Regions from separate parts of the Homo sapiens genome. Here all the other regions are linked to region 1. The links are contacts of gene promoters, found by promoter capture Hi-C in blood cells and fetal thymus (Javierre and others, 2016). All regions are on one chromosome and are shown on one strand. The core of a region is centred on a gene start or on the middle of the fragment in contact, and the rest is flanking DNA. Distances in the headings are between cores, read along the strand shown.

Region 1 (2,872 bases), core at 14-2,513:
AGATAAGAATATTAAGTACACTTATTTTAACACTCAAGGACACTTTCTGAATAAACCAGAATCTAGGGAGATATAAGTGAATAATTTGGACCTGCTCTCTTTGAATGTTTATAATCTGGTGGAAAAAAAATGGACATATGAATATTGATTTGTGACCAGTGCAAAGGGGGCAAAAATTCATATCCCAAAGAAAACGGGGACACATCAGGTCTGTCTTGTTCATCACTGTGTCCACAGGGCCTGACACCTAGTAGGCTCAGTGGGAGAAAGGAGCCCCAATTACCAACAAAAGCCAGGAAAGAACGGGAGGCTCTTACGGAAAAGGGTGATACTTAAACTGAGCAAGGAGGCACCTGGAAATAGTGCCACCTAATAATTTTTGGCGATCAGACTGACACACTAGAACGGTTCATAAGACCAGCCTTCTCCCATTGGCTAGCTTCCTTCCTCACCCTTCTCACCCTGGGCAAGCCGCTTCCTCTCTCTGGGCCTCTTGCTTTTCCTCTGTAACATAAAAGGGGTTGAGCAATATCATCTCTGAGAGCGCCATGTGTGTGCGTGCCAGAGGGAAAACCCCCACAACGCTAATACATCAAAACTGCAGGTTTGCACAAAAACTGAATTCTGCTGAATGCAAACAGGCAAACAGCATTTACCAGGAAACAAAACAAAATCAAGCACATAAAAAAGTAGGAAGAGTTGGAAAACGGAAGGAAGATAAGTTCTCAAACAGCTGGAATAGTTGATGTTAGCTAGCGAAGTTTTTCAGAGGAAAAAACAAGAAGTTGGTTATGAGGCAAGTGGACCTGAGAAAAAAGACTAAAGGGGAAGAATAGCAAGTAAAACAGAACTCCACTTGCTAGATCTCTCCCTCTGTCGCGCTCTTTCACCTGACCCACTCCCTTATTCCCCCCACACCCTTTCCTTCTCTCCCTACGTTACCGCACAGGAACGAAGTCTGGGTCATGTGCGGACCGCTTGTGGCTCTTAAATCCTCTTTTTGTCACCCTGGCCGTGCAAAATTTTGAAACGTCCCTCGGCAAAAAAAATAAAAATAAAAAAAAAAAATCTGTCCCTGGCCTCTTCCCTAGTTCTGGGTCCAGTTGCAGCCAAGTGAGGGGCAGCGCGCGCTCCCAAGTCCCCGTTTCAGAGACGCGCACGCGCCTGGCGCCCAACCCCCAATCCCCTGCTGCTCAGTGACCCCGCCCACGGGTTTCCGGGCCGGCGTAGCTATTTCAAGGCGCGCGCCTCGTGGTGGACTCACCGCTAGCCCGCAGCGCTCGGCTTCCTGGTAATTCTTCACCTCTTTTCTCAGCTCCCTGCAGCATGGGTGCTGGGCCCTCCTTGCTGCTCGCCGCCCTCCTGCTGCTTCTCTCCGGCGACGGCGCCGTGCGCTGCGACACACCTGCCAACTGCACCTATCTTGACCTGCTGGGCACCTGGGTCTTCCAGGTGGGCTCCAGCGGTTCCCAGCGCGATGTCAACTGCTCGGTTATGGGTAAGCCGCCGGCTCGGCAGTCCTCCGGGTCGTCCTTTCTGCCCTTGAGCCCCTAACGCAGCGCCACGCCAACTACCGCTTCCCCCCAGGCAGACGCTTGTGGGTGGCCAGAGCATCTTGACTGGATTCGGGGACCCTTGGGGACCTTCTTCCCCGCCAGGCTCGCGAAGTTAAAGTTCATCTGCTGAGAACTTCTAACTCCACACTTTCTTGGTTATCTTGGGGACTCAACACTTTGATCAAGAACTTTTTTATTCCTCCCGCTTAATTTTGTTTGCTTTGAGAGAGACTTGGGAACTGCAATCGTTTGGTTCTCCAGTCCGATCTGGTAGCGTTATTTTTAAAATTTATTTTTATTTTTTATTACTATTTTACTAGTGAAGATAGATGAGCTCAGAGACTCTCGAGGATATAGCATGAAGTTTTCTCTTTTTGTTAGATGGTGGGAAAGGGACTTTCTGCCCAGCGATTTTGGTTTGAGCGGGTGTTGATGAGTACTAGAAAACGGCTAGTACCACTCTGCATTGTTTCATGCATTGCAAGGAGGTAAAAATTTTTTAAAAAATTAATAACAAAGAAAACTTAACTCTGAACCTAGTAATTAGAAATGCCCAGAGTCTGCACAATGTTTGGCTCATGGAAGGCTCTCAATAAATACCTAGTGTTTGAACATACTGGAGATATTCCATATGCCTTCAGATAACATGGTTACCCCTAGAACAAAGAACCTAGTGAAGGGGGTGGGGTGGAAAAAAGACAATCACTAGTTAGAAGAGTCACACTGTGGTCTACCCAAACCCTCTTACAGCCTGTGACTTCTGCAGAGTCAGTAAAAAATCAGCTATAATTTTCTTGTCAACAGAACAAAGATTAAGTCATTTGTTACTAAAGAAATACCTTTTTAACTGACTGTATAGCATTTCATAATCCTGAACATTGTAACTTTTTTTTTTTTTTTTTTGAGAATGGAGTCTTGCTCTGTCACCCAGGCTGTAGTTCAGTGGCGGGATCTCGGCTCACTGCAACCTCCGCCTCCCGGGTTTAAGCGATTCTCCTGCCTCAGTCTCCCGAGTAGCTAGGATTACGGGCACATGCCACCACGCCCGGCTAATATTTTGTATTTTTAGTAGAGACGGGTTTCACTGTGTTAGCCAGGATGGTCTCCATCTCCTGACCTCGTGATCCGCCCGCCTCGGCCTCCCAAAGTACTGGGATTACAGGCGGGAGTCACCACGCCTGGCCTTTTTTTTTTTTTTTTTTTTAAATTTGAGTTTGAAGGTTGGGGCAGAAAGAGATCAGGATTTGCACTGCCCTGTCACATGCAATCTCCCATGTCAGAGCATTACTCTCAAACATGGAAAAACTTTAAAATAC
Region 2 (2,725 bases), core at 84-2,583, 380 kb after region 1:
ACTGGGGGCAGTGGCTGCCAGTGACAAAGAGTAGAGTACAGTATATTGCTAGCCTGGGAAGAGATCAAAATTCAAAATTTGAAGTACAGTTTTTACAGAATGCATATGGCTTTCAAACCATCATAAAGTCAAAAATCGTAAGTCGAATCATTGTAAGTCTGGGACCAGCTGTGCTTTATTTGGAAAGTGATATTTGGAAAGTGATTCTAGGGAAGAGAAATGAGCATATCAGGGATCAGAACACGATATCCCAAAATATGGTGTCATGGCATGCTGAGTATTTCGTTAGGAAGGAGATTGGTAGGCCTTAGAAGAAAGGTCACTCTGACCTTCTCATGCTCTCCCTTCTTCCTTTCCCCACGCTCCCCCAAGATGTGTCAAGAATTTTTCTCCCCACCTCAGATTATAGAAGTTAGAACTCCTCTCCCTCAAAGTGAACCATAAAACCTAGAAACGTCACTCTCTGGCCTACCTTCCCTGAAAGCAGGTCATGAGGGTCTTGTTCTAGAGTTCCTGCCCCATATGCTGAGAGAGGAATGCCACATAGAGAGCCCAAGAATAATCTGAACAAGTAGGCCTTGCTTGGTCTCCTCGCAGTTGATTACTATTAGATTCTACTTTCTTTGTCCAATCATGCTTCTTCACAACTTTTCACTTTTTTCATCAGACTTAGAATAAAAGCACACAGTTTTCCCTGGGTATGGGGGTCACATAAAACCCTGGTTAAATAAACTTATGGGTTTTTTTTTCTGTTAATCTGTCTTTTGTTACAGGACTGTCATCCGTGACCCTTATGACGGATGAGAAAAAGTTATTACCTTATTGCCCCTATGGGGGGTGAGGGGAGAGAAGCAGGAAGTAGAGAAAGGCAATCCAAATATGTATGATCCCATTGTCTACTGTGACAGGCAAAGAAGCTTGATTCAGAGAGAACTTTTAAGGAAACTTGTGACATGAATCTTGGAACTGACCACCTAAGGGACAAAGGGGGAATCAATTTGTGGGAGTGAAAAAGTAAATATTTTTCCTCACCCACTGTAAGTTATTACTTACAGTGCTATAACAATAGACAGATTCATAAGAGAAAAGCACAGCCAATTGATTTAACAATGTTTTATGTGACATGAGAGCGTTCGGAAATGAGGACTCAAGGACCCCCCCCCAAAAAACTGCATTTTTATACTTAGGTTCAATGAGGAATGGACAGTCCTGTAGAAATGTCAGTGTACAAAAAACAGGGTGAAACTTCATGATAATAAACTGAAGGTGGGGGGAGGGAACCCAGAAAGGCCCTGAAAGGTTCAAATTCTTCTTGGCTTCTCTGTGTATCATTCCTTCTCTCCAGGTTTGGTGCAGTACTCCTCTGGAATGCGGGTCTTATGACTTACTTTCAGTTAAGGTAGATTAAAAAAAATGTTTTATAACTATGCTTTATACAGAAAAGTGGGGGTGGTCAGAGTGACCTTCTAGCTCCTGTAGCTTTTTCAATTGCTGAGTGCCATGTTTTCACATATCATGTTCTGAGCTCCCACAAATTATTAATTAGTTCCCAGACCCCAGTGGACAAGGTTGGACACGTAGGGGTTAATTATCCTGCCGTTTGGTTTCTACAGACATCTCCTACTATGGCATCTGAGAGACCATGGGGCAGGAGTGGGAGGCCATGGTGCAGGTGATAGAAGCCTGTGCTAAGCAAATCTCTGCAGCAGAGAATAGTGAAGAGGCGAGGACCCAAGAATTTAAGCTTGCATGTGAGTGGTCTCCAATGCAGATGACTAAAGGATATTTTTGTTCTTCTCACAACTTTTTGATTCTAGTGTTATGCTCTGTGTAATTTTATAATAAGAACAATAGCTACAATTTATTTGCTATTTGCTGGATGTAGTTTGAGGGACTTGTGCAACATGTTCTCATTTTATTCTTCATAATAGTCCTTTATCATGACTTTGTATCGTTGATATTTACTTACAAGTAAATATTTTCAGATAAGTTAAATAATTTACTTACTTACAGTTACAAGGTATATGCATGTATGTATGTATGTTTGTTTTTAAAAATTATTTTATTAGCTCAGAAAATATATGAACCATACTGTAGAACGGAGACTTTTAAACATTTTTGGTTTAGCACTTAGTTTTTTATGTCTGCTAATGTACTGAAGCAAGAGTTTTATAAAATTGCATTTTCTCTTTTGACATGTCTTGTTAAGAGAAAATACAATATTTTCTATTCTGTCCTACTTGTGTGTGTGTGTGTGTGTGTGTGTGTGTGTGCATACTGTTTGCTACCCATTATATTGATTTTATCACTCACTAATGAGTTATGAGGCATGACCCCACAGTGTGAAAACGGTGACCTAGAAAACCAATATTTTATAGAAAATATTCACTTTCGGATGACAGGGGTCATCTGAAGCCTCATGAATGCCTAGCTCAATGGATGATTGACAGATGATAGAAAGATTGATTGATAGATAGATGATTGATAGATATAAGAGCTAAATGTTGTGCTTATTTTATTCATTTAAGTTTGGCTTATAGTTAGCTACGGGCTTTATACAATAGCTTTAGGCTTCGTTAAACAAAAGAGTCTATAGGATAAGTCATATTGTCTACTGATACTTTAAATAATTTTAACTTTTATTTTAGATTCAGGAAGTACATGTGCAGGTTCGTTATGTGGGTATATTACACGATACTAGGTTTGGAATACGGATGATCATGTC
Region 3 (3,094 bases), core at 573-3,072, 320 kb after region 1:
GTGTCTCCACAACTTTCCAGAGGTTGCCACATCCATATCTGTCTTGTTTCCCACAGAAGCCCTGCCGTCCTTCACTGCTCAGTACTATTTCTAATAACATTTCCAGTAGTGCCCTGAGGGTTGTACCTCTTGTTGCCCTGGTCTCTGCCACCTGGCCTTATTGCACATCAAGAGAGGCTCAAATTTGTCCCCACCCATTCTTAAGCCAATCAGTATGCAGGTAATAAGGCCCATCAGTAAAAAGGATTGAGGAAGGATCCTCCCCAAAACACATGGTTGTCAGGGTACAAACCAGGCCTTGCCAGCAGGGTAGGTATGGGTGATGGGAGAAATTAGCAATGACCACCACCATTAATATGACTTGTTACATCCAGATTGTGGCTGTTGTAACAATCATGGAGGATAGATCTGTCTTCTAATCTCAACTCTGCCACTTCTGAACTGTGTGACTTTGAGAAAGTCATTTTGCCAGTCAGAACTTCATTTTTCTGGTCTCTTAAATTAGGATAATAATACCTACCAAATAGCCTTGTTGTATTGTAAAACAAGTAACAGACCGGGGTCATTCTGTCCTTGAAATTTTAGGATATACAGATAAGGGACACTATGATGGGTTGAGACCAGGCATATCAGGCTTTGCATCCTAATTTGCTCCACTTAGCAACTGTGTGAATTTGCAGAAATTTTTTCAACTCCCTGACCCTGTTTCCTCATCCGTAACATGCAGTTGAAACTACCTACCATATGGAGTATAGAAATAAGACAGTATATATAAGTAACTGCATTAAGACCTGGCATACAGATTATAAATCCGTTTATTTCTCCTACTAAAGTTCCCATTATTCTTGACTATTTGATACTGGAGAGCAAGAGGGGAAGAGGAGATTGTCCCTAGTAGTGCACTTGTCTTCTATCTCCCACTTAATACCATAACAATAATAGCTACTGCTACGGTCACCACTTCTAATATGACTGCTTTTACCACTAGTGCTGCTGCTGCTGCTGCTATTCTGGTATTATTTATTGAGCAGGAACTATGTAGCAATATGTAAAGGGTACTGCGATGTGCTCTTTACTGTGCTATTGATTTTAATGTCAGTATGTCTGCTTTCAATCAATTATATTGCATGGCCTTGAAAAATAGCCATTTCATTCCAGTCCTGGGTTTTTGCAGGCCAGGGTTAATGCAAGAAGCTTTCATTAGTAAACCATAAACTCTAGAAGGTGTGAATAATAGGACTTGGCCTATGCATCTTTCTTTTTATCCATCTCGGTCCTAGCACCTGCTGATGAGTCCTTCTTTGAGTGATTTCACAGTTTGTCATCCTAAGTGTTCTGGGCTCTTAGTGTTTCACTGCAGCATTTTTCAGGCAAGCATAAATCTCCAAATCTTCAGATTTTGAATCAGCTAGAACAAAATCTCAGCATTGCTTTTTATGCTATTAGTCATTCTCAATTGGTTATTTTCCTTTTGTTCCAGTCATTCTAAATGGCAAAAAAAAACAAAAACAAAAAAGCAATCATGAAGTCACATCCTTGGATGTTATTAGTAGAAAATAAAACGGCATTCACTTCTATTCTGTTGAACATATACTTACTCTGAACAAAAGAAATTGATGAACTAAAACAAACAAAATATGTTCCTCAGCCCTGCTTTAGACAGATAAGCAAGACAATTAATATCAAGGCTGTTATTTCTTTGTTCCAATTTTCTATGCCTGTTCCTAATTTATATTCTCCAAGGTATCTGAGATTAGATAACTATTAAAGTTTCATTCTGTATTATTTTTGGTATTTAGTGAAAGTTTATTACCTACAGGCCTTTTGAGATAAATAAACTTTAATGTATTACTATCCCTACAGAATGTCAGACCTGGAAAGAACCATAAGGATGAGATTTTTCTGGGACAACCATCTCATTTTGCACATGAGAAAACAGGCCCAGAGCACCCTGAGATGTGTGTGCTTTGGGAGTTCAGAGTGGACCCTCTTTGTAACACAATACTTTCTGTACACGTAGTCCTTTGTTTGAAATTCTTTTTAAATTGTGTATGCTGAGTAAGAAGTTACATTTGAGCTTTTTTAAAAATCAATTTTTTCCACTAGTGTAGTAAAGGAACACTACTATTATCAGATTCGGCTTATTTGTTCAAGCACCCACTGGGACATTGAGGAAGGACAGGAAGTATAGTGGAGGAGTTTGACTAAATATAATTGAGGAATAATCCTCTTTCCCCAGTACAAAGGAGCTTTTCAGAGGCTTATTGCTGTCCTACCTGGTTGGTTGTAATTTGCTGAGCATGTAATTTCTGTGTTAAGAGCTGTTCACAAGACAAAGGGCACAGATGGCTTTTGGGAGCCTTGTTAATTGTTGATAATTCTTCTTCACTCTAGTCCCCACCCAGAAGCCAGAAAAATATGCTACCAGGTATGCTAGCTGTTCAAGCTTAAAACTATTTTTTAATAGAAACTTTATTAGGAAAAATAATCCAGTAAGTTCCATATACTCCTTCCGTGCTTGGTTCCCACCGTCTTCCTCCCCGTTACTTACCAACAATCCTGGTCCCAGTGTCTTCCCTTCCAGTGTGGTGTCTTTTCCTGCTGCTGGCCTTATGTCCTGACACAAATGCTGAAAGTTACTTCCTCCAGTGTCCTTCCAAGTATCTGAACAGTACAGTGACTCTGTCTTTACCTGCTTCAATTGAAGAGTGAGAAGCTTCTGGTGGCTGTGTGATCGTCAGCTTCATTAATCAGTAGGTCACAGTCTAAACATTTCTCCTCACCGGTGCCATGACTCTTGGTGACCAGATTGAAAATCTGATGAGGCCCAGAGAGCAAAAGTGACTCTACCAGTGACTGGACCCCACTCATGGCAGGCCAGGATTAAGGTGGGAATCTCCTGTCCCATCTCTCAGGTGAATGTCACACTGTTTGAGACAACTTAAGGAAGGGATATAGAGAGAGTGAGTGTGCCCCATGGTAGCTTTAATCTGGCAAAGCAGAACAACACGAATGGAGCAAAAGTCTCAAAGCAAAATCTCTCACTCAAAAGACAGTGTGCCTTACTAATTAAGAACAAAGGATTTGGAGTTAT
Region 4 (2,804 bases), core at 37-2,536, 500 kb before region 1:
GAAAGTGTGGGTAAAGGTTTATAAATCTTCATACCTTTCATACCTAACACATTGTAGATATTTTAGAGTGGCTGAAACTGCAGGGGGGGAAAAATGGCAGTAATAGAGAGGCAGAAAAACGGTTCTCTTCAACTCAGTCAGCCTAAGTAAAAGGCAGGATTCTCACACCCTAAAATCGAAAAAGTAGACTAAATATATGTTTCTCTGCAAGTAAGCCAGCTAAAAGTCTCCTGGTGGAGAACAGAGGTGACTCCCTAGGACACCCTCCCCATGAGTTTATGACAGGTCTATTTCATAGCTTTTCTTACTGAATGGTGAATTTCTGGCCTTTGCAAATCACGTCTGAAGAAATGAGCACTTTCTATGAGGCTTAAACATGCATTCAACTAATCAATCACTTGGATTAGGAAAAGTCAAATTATTAGTAAAGTGGTGAGACAAGGAAGACCAGATACATTCTTGGACACGTGCTGTTTTAAAGGAAGCCTTCGTAGGTTTTATTTCCTTTCAAAGGCAGGGAAAATAGATGTAGTTTCTTCAGTACTCTGACTTCATATTATTAGACTTGCCAGGTGATAAAGTGAATATTGATTAGATATCATTCAGTCATTAGTTCAGAATATTTTAAAGCTTTATTGTTTTCTAATAGCTTAGCAAGTCATGAATACAAGTCTTTATGCTTCAAGATGATTTATAGAGATTCTCTCAATTTACCTTTTTGTACATGCCAAAATCTGTTTTCTTACTTAATTTTACTTTAAAAAAATATTTGGCAATTTTTTTACAAAAAGTAATTTTTTAAATTGCTTTTGTCATGGATACATATTTGTACATATGTATGGGGTACACATGATTTTTTTTTACAGTCAGAATGAGTAATGATCATGTTAGGGTTAGGGTATTTACAGTATCCATCACCTCACGTATTTATCATTTCTATGTGTTGGGAACATATCAAGTTCTCTCTTATAGATATTTTAGAACAAACAATATATTTTTGTTAATGATAGTCTACTCAGCTAACAAACATTAGAATGTTTTTCTTCTATCTAATTGTACAATTGTTTTTACCCATTAACCAACCTCTCTTATTTACGCCCTACCCATGTACACACCCTTCTCAGCCTCTGGTATCCACTTCCATGCGAAAACCTTTTTTTTGGTCCCACATATGTGAGTGAGAACATGTAATATTTGTCTTTCTGTGCCTGGCTTATTTAACTTAACATAATGAACACCAGTTTCATCCATGTTGCTAAAAATGACATGATTTCATTATTTGTTATGCGCTAATAGTATTTCATTGTGTTTACATATACCACATTTCTTAACAATTAATCCATTGATGGATACTTAGATTTATTTCATATCTTGCTTTTGTGAATAGTGCTGTAATAAACATGGAGGTGCAAATGTCTCTTTGACCTACTGATTTCCTTTTCTTCAGATACATACCTAGTATTAGAATTGCTGATCATACGATAGTTTTATTTTTTCTTTTTTGAGAAACCTTTATACTGTTTTCCATAGTGTCTGTATAATTTTACCAATATTGTCTTTCCCTTTTCTTTGCATTCTGGCCAGCATCTTTTATTTTTTGTCTTTTTAATAATAGCCATTCTAACTGGGGTGATGATACCTCACTGTGGTTTTGACTTACATTTCCCTGGTGCTTATTGATGTGGAGCATTCCTTCATGTACCTGTCGGCCATTTATACGTCTTTGAGAAATGTCTGTTCATGTCTTTTGCCCAATTTTTCATGCAATTATTTGTATTTTGGGGGGGCAGCGGGAGTTAGTTTTTTTTTTAAGCTGTTAAGTTCCTTGTATATACTAAATATTACTCTCTTGTCAGATGAAACATTGTGCAAATATTTTCTTCCATTCAACAGGTTATCTCTTCACTCTGTTGATTATGTTCTTCACTGTACAGAAGCTTTTTGGTTTAAAACAATCCCATTTGTTTATTTTTGTTTTTGTTGTCTGTGTTTTTTAGGTCTTAGCTATAAAATCTTTGCCTAGCCCAATGTCCTCAAGTGTTTCCTCTATGTTTTCTTTTAGTAGTTTTATAGTTTGGGGTCTTACTTTGAGTCTTTAATCCATTTAAGATGTTTTTATATATCATGAGAGTTAGGGGTCCTGTTTCTGTCTTCTGCATATGGATATCAAATACTCCCAGCACTATTTATTGAAAAGGATGTTCTTTCCTCATTGAATATTCTTGACAACTTTTCCAAAAATCATTTGGATAAAAAACGCATGGATTTATTTCTGGGTTCTCTATTCTGTTCTGTTGGTCTATGTACCATTTTTCCTATCATACCATATTGTTTTGGTCACTATATTCTTGTAATATATTTTAAAGTCAGGTAGTGTGATGTCTCCAGCTTTGTTGTTATTACTTAGGATTGCTTTGGTTTTTCAAGCTCTTTTTTGATTCCATATAAATTTTAAGATTTTTTTTTCTTTTTCTGTGAAGAATATTATTGGTATTTTTAAAGGAATTACATGGAATCTGTAGATTGCTTTGAGCAGTATGGTCATTGTAACAATGTTAATTCTTTCAATCTATGAATACGGGATGTCTTCATATTCAATTAAGTTCTCTTAAATTTCTTTCATCAGAATTTTGTAGTTTTCTTTGTAAAGGTCTTTTGCTTCCTTGGCTAAGTATACTTATAGATTTTTTTAATAGCCATTGTAATTGGGATTGCCTTCTTTATTTTCTCCTCAGCCAGTTCATTATTGGTGTATAGAAATACTACTGGTATTTTAGTTTTAATTTTGCATCCTGCAACTTTAC

What was found. The method cuts DNA at HindIII sites, captures the fragments that hold promoters and counts their contacts. A CHiCAGO score of 5 or more calls a contact.
Region 2: a fragment that was not itself captured here is called in contact with the fragment with the promoter of CTSC in region 1 in 1 of 17 cell types (megakaryocytes); the score reaches 7.1 in megakaryocytes.
Region 3: a contact is called between a fragment that was not itself captured here and the fragment with the promoter of CTSC in region 1, in 5 of 17 cell types (total CD4 T cells, M2 macrophages, megakaryocytes and 2 more). The highest score is 5.3, in total CD4 T cells.
Region 4: a contact is called between a fragment that was not itself captured here and the fragment with the promoter of CTSC in region 1, in 1 of 17 cell types (non-activated CD4 T cells). The highest score is 5.3, in non-activated CD4 T cells.

The regions. Positions count from the first base shown.
Region 1 is chr11:88,336,127-88,338,998 of GRCh38, reverse strand. CTSC (cathepsin C) reads left to right here and starts at 1,263. Exons shown (of 7, transcript NM_001814.6): 1 at 1,263-1,498. The coding sequence starts at 1,327. LOC101929174 (a long non-coding RNA gene) reads right to left here and starts at 1,115. Exons shown (of 5, transcript NR_188511.1): 1 at 943-1,115. RefSeq lists an enhancer at 1,268-1,547. The HindIII fragment of the contact is 10,462 bases long and covers 1-2,872 here.
Region 2 is chr11:87,955,422-87,958,146 of GRCh38, reverse strand. It overlaps a transcript of RAB38 not described here. Among named protein-coding and RNA genes, the nearest start is that of RAB38, 220 kb to the left of the region's middle. The HindIII fragment of the contact is 827 bases long and covers 920-1,746 here.
Region 3 is chr11:88,011,854-88,014,947 of GRCh38, reverse strand. It overlaps a transcript of RAB38 not described here. Among named protein-coding and RNA genes, the nearest start is that of RAB38, 160 kb to the left of the region's middle. The HindIII fragment of the contact is 1,252 bases long and covers 1,197-2,448 here.
Region 4 is chr11:88,832,268-88,835,071 of GRCh38, reverse strand. The region is part of intron 3 of GRM5 (glutamate metabotropic receptor 5); the gene reads left to right. Among named protein-coding and RNA genes, the nearest start is that of GRM5, 230 kb to the left of the region's middle. The HindIII fragment of the contact is 1,307 bases long and covers 633-1,939 here.